Linked DNA regions of Homo sapiens: region 1 is linked to region 2. The links are contacts of gene promoters, found by promoter capture Hi-C in human tissues and cell types (Jung and others, 2019). All regions are on one chromosome and are shown on one strand. The core of a region is centred on a gene start or on the middle of the fragment in contact, and the rest is flanking DNA. Distances in the headings are between cores, read along the strand shown.

Region 1 (4,669 bases), core at 1,675-4,174, 450 kb after region 2:
CTCTGTTTTCAGAGTCTCAAGTAAATCACTCTCTTTCTCAACTGGACTTCCAAGGCAAAGATTTCTTTCTATTTATCTATCTGCATTTTTACAAAGTTGGCCTCTGGATTCCCTTTTCCCAAACCTAATTCACCACAAAGGTGCCCCTCAAGTCAAGGAGCTGGGCTTTCATACACCTGCACCTGTCAATCATGGTAAATATTTTGCAGGCAGGGTTGCTGGGTGCTGTGGGATTGACGTAAACTCCCAGGTATTGCCAGCTCTGAGCCTCAGGCAAGCTTGTGACTAAATGACTCCAGTAGTCTGAGGATAGTCCTTACTCAGAAGGGTCTTTGGAAGCAAAAGCAAACATAGGCATGAGAGGGTAAAAAAAAAAAAAAAAAAAAAAAAAAAAATCTCATGTCATCTTGGCTTATACCTAACAGAACTTGTGCAAGAATGGATATTAAGGTGGGTATTGTACAGAGCAGAACTTAATAAATACCAAGTCTGGAGTTTAAGGGATAGGCTGAAGAGATTTTGCAGGCTTGTAAACATTTTTGCCAACTTGAACACACTTTTGTTTGGGTTTGGTTTTTCTCCTCATTGGTAAGAGCTACGCACAATAGGGTAGCTAAGATATTATAATTTGAATCGATACATTTGTATTTTGCCAAGGATCAAGATGAACTATGATGATTTCCATTTTTTAGTACTTTATTTTCATCAGTTTGAAAATTAGGACTTTTGCTCCTTTTTTGGCTTGTGGCACCTTTTTGGTTTTCACACTTTCTCAAAGACCAGTAACTTAGAATCTAAATTATGATTGCTTATTCTTTCAGTACTCTAGGGGAAAGTTGATTTAATCTTGACAAAATGTATTCAGTTAAAATAATTGTTCTCTTAAATCTTTCTTTCTTTCTTTCTTTCTTTTTTCTTTTTTTGGAGATGGAGTCTTGCTCTGTCACCCAGGCTAGTGTGCAGTGGCACAATCTTGGCTCACTGCAACCTCCGCCTCCTGGGTTCAAATGACTCTCCTGCCTCGGCCTCCCGAGTAGCTGGGCCTATAGGCGCATGCCATCACGCCCGGCTAATTTTTGTATTTTTAGTAGAGATGGGGTTTCACCATGTTGTTCTCTTAAATCTTTTCACCTTTTAAGTTTGTCCTTCCTTTCTCCAATTTGCAATAGGGGAGTGTGGCTCGCAGCTAAATAGTAGACTTCTCAGAGCTACTTATTCCTGGAGCCTGGCAGTCTGCAGGCCTGGAGGGGGAGCATCTAGAAAGCAGCCCTCTCTAAGTTGAGAATAACTATGAGAATTGTGGGTTATAAGGCTTTGAGCAGCTCTGGCCTCCCCGTCCTCTTTTGTTTCTACTGTGGGATGTGACAAGAGAAGGAACTCATCTGAGAGAGACTTCATATTGTGGCCTTTCACCGATTACTTCTGGAAATTTGATTCAGGCAAGCCAGGGAGAGTGTCTGGTATTCTTCTCTGAGAAGAAGAATTCATTATACAGCTGGACAATGGAATCTATGATCTGCCTGTAGAGGTTAGAGGTGCATCCTGTTCCGGGAAATAATTACAATTTAGGCAAGTTATACATGTTTGCTTAAGAGAATGCTTTCTGCACATTTCATGTTCTTCCTTTCTATCTTAGCCTAGGGAGAAAACCGTGGGGACTCAGGGCTGGAACTTTAGTGTGATGGGGCAGAAGCTTAATTTTCACATGATTCTCAACAAATGGCAGCATATCCCATGTATTATCATGTCCAATGGCTGCAATATGAAGGAGGCTTTTCCGAAATAGTTGCTGCTTTGGTAAAAAATTAACTAGATGGATTCAAAGTCAAATTTGAAGAAAGCTGAGCAGGCAGAAGAAACAATCAGTGAACCTGAAGATAAGGCAATGGAAATCATCCAGTTTGAGGAACAGAAATAAAAAAAGATTGAAGAAAAGTGAACAGAGCCTAAGTGACCATCAAGTGGACCACCATGTACATTGTGGAAGTTCTTTTTTGTTGTTGTTGTTTTGGGGGGTGGGAGGGGGGAAGGAGTTTCATTTTTGCTGCCCAGACTGGAATGCAATGGCGCTATCTCAGCTCACCGCAACCTCTGCCTCCTGGTTTCAAGCAATTCTCCCACCTCAGCCTCCCAAGAGGCTGAGATTGCAGGCATGCACCACCATGCCTGGCTAATTTTGTATTTTTAGTAGAGACGGCATTTCTCCATGTTGGTCACGCTGGTCTCAAACTCCTGACCTCAGGTGATCCTCCCGCCTCGGCCTCCCAAAATGCTGGGATTACAGGCATGAGCTACTGCTCCCAGCCTTGCATTGTGGAATTTCTAAAGAAGAGGGAGAGAAGGGCAATAGAGAATATTTGAAGAAATCATGGCTGAAAACTTCCCAAATTTGATGAAAGACATGAATACAAACACAGTAGCCTAACAAACTCCAAGTAAGATAAACCTAAAGAGACCTACACCAAAACGCATTATAATCAAACTTTCAAAAGTCAAAGAGAATCTTTAAATTGGTAAGAGAAAAGCAACTGGTCACATGCAAGAAATCTTTAATAAGATTATCAACAGATTTCTCATCAGAAACTTTGGAAGCTGGAAGGACAGGAAATCAAAAGCTGCCAACAACCAGGAGGGGTGGCTCATATCTATAATCCCAACACTTTGGGTGGCTGAGGCAGGCAGATCACTTGAGGTCAGGAGCTCAAGACCAGCCTGGCCAACATGACAAAACCCTGTCTCTATTAAAAATACAAAAATTAGCCAGGCGTGGTGGTGGGTGACTGTAATCCCAGCGACTTGAGAGACCAAGGTGGGAGAATCACTTGAACCTGGGAGGCGGAGGTTGCAGTAAGCCAAGATCTCGCCACTGCACTCCAGCCTGGGTGATAGGGTGAGACTCTGTATTAATAAACAAACAAACAAACAAAAGCTGCCCGTGAAAGGGAAAAGGATCAATAAATGGGTATTCCAAAAAGTCAAAAGTCACACAAATATCAAGCCAAAATAAACTGGTTTCCTGACTGGAAATCGACCCCAGGCTATGGCAGCAAAACACAGAACTTTAAGCACTGAACTGCAAGGTAGAGCAGACTTTATTGTGCATCCTGGAAGGGATCCAGAGCAGGCAGTTTGAGCTTATGAAGAATTTTAACTTTGTTTCGGGTCAAATTTTGCTCTTTAATTTAGTTAAGAGAATTTTTTTTCCCTACACAACACACATAATATTGTCAAGAGAATTTTTAAGGGTAGCCATGACACTATTATGTGTGTTTGTTTTAATTTGATCTTCCTATGAACTGTTAAAATAAGAGATCTCTAAAATCTTTTTTTTTTTTAATTCAGGTGTCTAATTTAAGGGATCCATCTTCAGGCCATTGGCAAGTAGAATTTCCAATGGTGTAATTATTGCAATAGCAATTCAACCAAATAGCCCCTTTGTGGAAAGCCCAGGATGTCATTTTCCAGGTTAACCTCCTGGGAAGGGCAAAGAAGAAGCAATCCCAAAGATTCCCCTGCAAGAAAAAAGTTCAATGCAAGGAGTAGACCACAGATGGGTAAGGATGATGTTGGCCTCCAGTAACCCAGATATTTATGGGGGCTTCCAGTCACAGACCTCTGAATCTATAATACCAGGTAGGCCCTCTTGGGATTGAGCTTTCCTAGGACTAACCAGGCAACAAGAATTGAGATGACAAAAGCCTCAAAGGGATGGGACTTCTTAAGACAAACCCCAAGAGCTTGACATGGTCAGAACAAAAAGTGTGCTGGGGTTCCCAGCCATTTTCAGACAGGCCACCTAGTATGACCTGATAGTTACTGCCTCTTTCCAGATAGTGGAAACCAAGAGAAAGCGCTCCCACTTGCTCACAAGTCAAGCTCTCAAGGACATAAAATAAGATGAGAAGGAACCTCAACCGGTACCCCCTTTTATGACAGAATAACACATAGAGACAAAGACAAAGGAACAGACAATTTCTGGGAACAAAGGGATTAAACAATAGGAATTGGTACCACAAAGTACCAAAAAGCACACCAGAGTCACTACACCCAAGACTAGTCACACAAATCCTTTTCTCCAATTAATCAAGATTTTGGAGAGGGAAAAGAAAGAAACAGTGATTTTTACTGTCCACTTGATGAGATTCCACACAGAGAAGGAGGCCAGGAGCCTGGCTGGTAAAAAAATTCTTACCCTTATGACAGCTGATCAGATCCTGGGTTCTTCACTGCAGCTTCCAGAAGAGCAGAGCTTTCCTATCCTGCTTACAGCTCCAAAACTGTAGGGGCCAATGGAAACCCTCCCTCTTAACCCTCTGAAGTTTCACTCAAAAATCAAGTCGCAAAAGGCAGATTAATTGGAAAAAAGGCATAAAATGTACTAACATGTGCATGGGGAGAGTCACAGAGTGATTACCCTCCCCTACCCACAATGGGATGCAGAAGCTTATATACCATCTTGAGGTAACAGAATGAATGAGGGCTCAAAGCATGGCCAAAACCAGGTGCAATCAGAGTCAGAGGTATATCCAATTATTGTGGACAAGATAAGTGATGGTAGGGAGAGAAGAGGAGGCTTGGCTAGCAAAGGTGGTCTTAATATGTAAATGAAACCCTACAGTTAGCAGCTCTCAGAGAGAATAAACCCTAAAAATTTCTTTCAGACCTTTAC
Region 2 (5,043 bases), core at 683-3,182:
TTTTTAGTAGAGACGCGGTTTTGCCATCTTGACCAGGCTGGTCTCAAACCCCTGACCTCAGGTGATCTGCCCACCTCAGCCTTCCAAAGTACTGGGATTACAGGTGTGAGCCACCATGCCCGGCCCCCCCCTTTTTTTTTTTTCAGACAGGGTCTTACTCTGTCCACAGGCTGGACTGCAGTGGCATGAACGTGGCTCACTATAGCCTTGACCTCTTGGGCTCAGGTGATCCTCCCATTTCAGCCTCCCAAAATGCTGGGATTACATGCATGAGTCACAGCACCCAGCCTGCCTCTGTCCATTTATACTGGGTTGTCTTTTTATTATTGCACGGTAAATGTTCTTTATAAATTCTAGATACATGTCCTGAATCATATATATGATCTGCAAAAATTTTCTCCCATTATGTGGATTACATTTTCACCTTTTTGTCTTTTGAAGCACAGAAGTTTTAAATTTTTGTAAAAGTCCCATTTATCGGCCTGGTGCGGTGGCTCACACCTGTAATCCCAGCACTCTGGGAGGCTGAGGCGGGCGGATCATGAGGTCAGGAGTTTGAGACCAGCCTGGCCAGCAAGGTGAAACCCCATCTCTACTAAAGATACAAAAAATTAGCTGAGTGTGGTGGTGCGTGCCTGTAATCCCAGCACTTTGGGAGGCCGAGGCGGGCAGATCACCTGAGGTTGGGAGTTTGAGACCAGCCTGACCAACATGGAGAAACCCCGTCTCTACTAAAAGTACAGAATTAGCCGGGCATGGTGGCACATGCCTGTAATCCCAGCTAGTCAGGAGGCTGAGGCAGGAGAATTGCTTGAACCTGGCAGGTGGAGGGTTGCAGTGAGCCGAGATCGCACCATTGCACTCCAGCCTAGATGACAGGGTGAGACTCTGTCTCAAAAAAAAAAAAAAAAAATACAGATAGGGTGCAGTGTATACTGCTCAGGTGATGGGTGGACCAAAATCTTACAAATCACCACTAAAGAACCTACTCATGCAGGGCAAGGTGGCTCACGCCTGTAATCCCAGAACTTTGGGATGCCAAGGGGGGCAGATCACTCGAGGTCAGGAGTTTGAGATCACCCTGGCTAACATGGTGAAATCCTGTTTCTACTAAAAATACAAAAATTAGCTGGGCATGGTGGTGCCTGCCTGTAATCCTAGGTACTTGGGAGGCTGAGGCAGGAGAATCGCTTGAACCTGGGAGATGGAGGTTGCAGTGAGCAGAGACTGCACCACTACACGCCAGCCTGGGCAACAGAGCAAGACTCCGTCTCAAAAAAAATTACTAATGTAAACAAAAAAAAAACACCAAAAAACAAAAACCTTAGTCATGTAGCCAAATACCACCTGTACCCCAATAACCTATGGAAAAACAAATAAATAAATAAATAAATAAAAAGTTTTGAAATCAGGAAGTGTGAGTCCTCCAACTTTGTTCTTTTTCAAAATTCTTTGGGTATTGAGTGCCCCTTTTATAAGTGGTTTCCTCATCTGAAAAATGGGAGAATTTCTCTTGGAAATATCTATGATGGCAGGAAAATACAGCAGATAAAGATAAGTGGCATATCATATATATGTCTGGAGGCCGTCAGGGAAAGCTTGTTCACCTTACACCCCACCTTGGCCCTGCACCTACCAGAAATCAGCTGGATGAGTCACAGTGAGATTTTCCACCCCTGCTCACCGCCTTGCACATAGGATGGGCTCTGTCTGAGCCTATACTTTGCCTGTTGGCTTGAATTGGATTTGTTTGGTATACAGGGCAGTTAAACTGGGAATAGATGGCAGGTCCAATTATTCTCAGCAGCAGAGGTTTAGGAATGCATTTCAGGAATATCCAGCCATGTGGTTAGGGTTTGAGAATAAGGCAAGGGGCTGTGTGACCTCCAACTACTGGACAGTGTCATTTCCCCCAGCTTGTCACTGGTTCAGTGGCCCCCATTACACAATGAAGATAACAATCGTTGCCTTGCCAACCTCACAGTGATTATTGGGCCAGGGTACTCTCTCCCAGAAAGCCTTCCCTGACTCTCCCCAGACTGTGTGGGGTTTCTTCTCTTTGCTCCCACAGGCCCCTGTGAATTTGCTTCATTACAGTACCTTTCATTCTGCTTTGCCAATGACTGCTTTTCTCTCTGTCTCCTCCAGTCTGCGAGCTCCAGGATGGTAGGAGCTGGATTGGCCACATCCCAGTGACCCCAGTACTCAGCACCTGGCATAGGGTATGTGCTCGATGCCTGTCTTTGTTAGACTGAACAGAACTGAAAGTGCTCTGAATGGCTGGGTGCGGTGGCTCACACCTGTAATCCCAGCACTTTGGGAGGCCGAGGTGGGTGGATCACTTGAGGTCGAGTTATAGACCAGCCTGGCCAACATGGTGAAACCCCGTCTCTACTAAAAATACAAAAATTAGCCAGGCATGGTGGCGCATGCCTGTAATCCCAGCTACTTAGGAGGCTGAGGCACGAGAATCACTTGAACCTGGGAGGCAGAAGTTGCAGTGAGCTGAGATCATGCCACTGTCTTCCAGCCTGGGTGGTAGAGTGAGACTTAGTCTCAAAAAAAAAAAAATTGGAAAATAAGGCCAGGTATGGTGGCTCATGCCTATAATCCTAGCACTTTGGAAGGCTGAGGCAGGAGGATCTCTTGAAGACAGGAATTCAAGACCAGCCTGGGCAACATAGCAAGACCCCCGTCTCTACAAAAAGTAAGAAAAATAGCAGGGTAGGGTGGTGTGTGCCTGTAGGCCCAGCTACTCAAAAGGTTGAGGCAGGAGGATCCCTTGAGCCCGGGAATTTGAGGCTGCAGTGAGTGATGATCGCACCATTGCACTCCAGTGTGGGGTGACAGAGAGAGAAAGAAAGAGAGAGACCCTGTCTAAAAAAAAAAAAAAAAAGAAAAGAAAAAGAAAAGAAAAGAAAAGAAAAATAACCAATATTTGCAAAAATGTGAAGAAATTGAAACCCTTGTGAACGTAAATGGTGCTGCTGCTGTGGAAGACAGTTTGGAGGCTCCTCAAAAAGGTGAGCAAGGCCGGACATGGTGGTTCACACCTGTAGTCCCAGCTACTTGGGAGGCTGAGTTGGGAGGATCACTTGAGCCTGGGAGGTTGAGGCTGCAGTGAGCCATGATCATGCCAGTGCTTTCCAGCCTGGGCAACAGAGTGAGATGCTGTTTCAAACAAAACAAAACAAAACAAAACCACTAAACATAGCATTATTGTATAACTCAGCAGTTTCACTCCTATGTATACACTCAAGAAAATGGAAAACAGGACTAGAACAAGTGTTTGAACACCAATGCTCATAGTAGCCCGATTCCCAATACCAAAAGGTGATAACATCCCAATTGTTGACAGATGAATGGATAAACAAAATATGGTATATACATGCAATGGAATATTATCCCTCCATTAAAAGGAATGAAATTCTGATCCATGCTACATGAAAGAACCTTGAAAACTTGATGCTAAGTGAAATAAGAAACACAAAAGCCCAATATTGTATGATTCCACTTATAAGAGGTATCTAGAAAAGGCAAATTCATAGAGACAGAAAGTAAAACAGAGGTTACTAAGGGATGGAGCAGAAGGAAATGGGAAGTTATTGCTAATGGGTGTGGAGTTTCTGTTTGGGATGATGAAAAGTTCTGGAAAGCATGATATAGTTGCACAATATTGTGAATGTACTTAATTTCACAGCATTGTACACTTAAAATGGTAAATTTTATGTTATGTATATTTTACAATAAAAATGTAAGTGGTTAGATCAATCCTATAATAAAAAGCTTATAAAAAATGAGTAGAAATGGCCAGTCGTGGTGGCTCACGCCTGTAATCCCAGCACTTGGGAGGCCGAAGTGGGCGGATCACTTGAGGTCAGGAGTTCAAGATCAGCTTGGCCAACCAGATGAAACCCCCGTCTCTACCAAAAAAATACAAAAACTAGCCAGGCTTGGTGGTGGGTGCCTGTAATCCCAGCTACTCGGGAGGCTGAGGCAGGAGAATCGCTTGAACCCGGGAGGTGGAGGTTGCAGTGAGCCGAGATTGCACCACTGCACTCCAGCCTGGGCGGCAGAGTGAGACTTTGTCTGAAGAAAAAAAAAAAAAAAAGTAAAAAGGAGAAGGAGAGTGAGAGAGAAAAGGAAAGAAGGGGTGGGGAAAGTTTGGGGTATTCAGTGAATCAGAAGTTTGGGATCAGCTTCACCCCCACATAGGGGCTGGCACATTGCAGGCACTCAACTCAATGAGAGAATGGTAGGGAAGGAGGGATTTTGAGAATTTGGCTAGGGTAGACATTGTATCTCCCAGAATATTCTGGGAGAAATCGAAGTTAAGACTGGAATTCTTCTTCTTCTTTTTTTTTTTTTTTGAGACAGAGTCCCGCTCTGTCACCCAGGCTGAGGTGCAGTGGCACAATTTCAGCTCACTGCAACTTCCGCATTCCGGGTTCAAGCGATTCTAGTGCCTCAGTCTCCCAACTAGCTAGGACTACAGACACACGCCACCAAGCCCGGCTAATTTTTGTATTTTTAGTAGAGACGGGGTTTCACCATGTTGGCCAGGCTGGTCTCGAACTCCTGACCTCAGGTGATCCGCCCGCCTCAGCCTCCCAAAGTGCTGGGATTACAGGCGTGAGCTACCAAGCCCGGCCTGGAATTCTTCTTAAATTACTTGTGTTACTAAACTTTACTTCTTTGAATACAACTCGTTGTTGAGGTTTGGCCACACGGGGCCCTGAGCATATAAGTGGGTTCCCCTAGGGGAAGCATGGAGGGTGGTAGGGTAATGGCATCTATTTAGTCTGGTGGGTCAGGTGCCAGCTGAGCCTTACAGTCAGGAGAGGGAAGGATATTCAGGCAGAGGAGGCGCCGAGGCAAAGGCTGGAGGACAGAGATACTGCAGGGTGGGCTACAGCTTTGCCTCTCGGTCAACTGGGCCCCAGGCCTAAGAAACTGAAGCGATGGGGATGATCCACACCCAGACCACGGGTTACAGAGGGGTCTGTCCATGGCGGGCGCAGGGCGCTTTCTTTGCGTCGGAGG

The links. Contacts are between HindIII fragments. The study calls those that stand out against the background at their distance.
Region 1: a contact is called between a fragment that was not itself captured here and the fragment with the promoter of SPATA21 in region 2, in 1 of the 25 tissues and cell types used here (dorsolateral prefrontal cortex).

What each region holds. Positions count from the first base shown.
Region 1 is chr1:16,881,694-16,886,362 of GRCh38, forward strand. No RefSeq gene overlaps it. Among named protein-coding and RNA genes, the nearest start is that of TRN-GTT4-1, 5.6 kb to the right of the region's middle. The HindIII fragment of the contact is 3,878 bases long and covers 986-4,669 here.
Region 2 is chr1:16,435,492-16,440,534 of GRCh38, forward strand. SPATA21 (spermatogenesis associated 21) reads right to left here and starts at 1,933. Exons shown (of 13, transcript NM_198546.1): 1 at 1,637-1,933. RefSeq lists a silencer at 2,663-2,833. The HindIII fragment of the contact is 3,104 bases long and covers 1-2,692 here.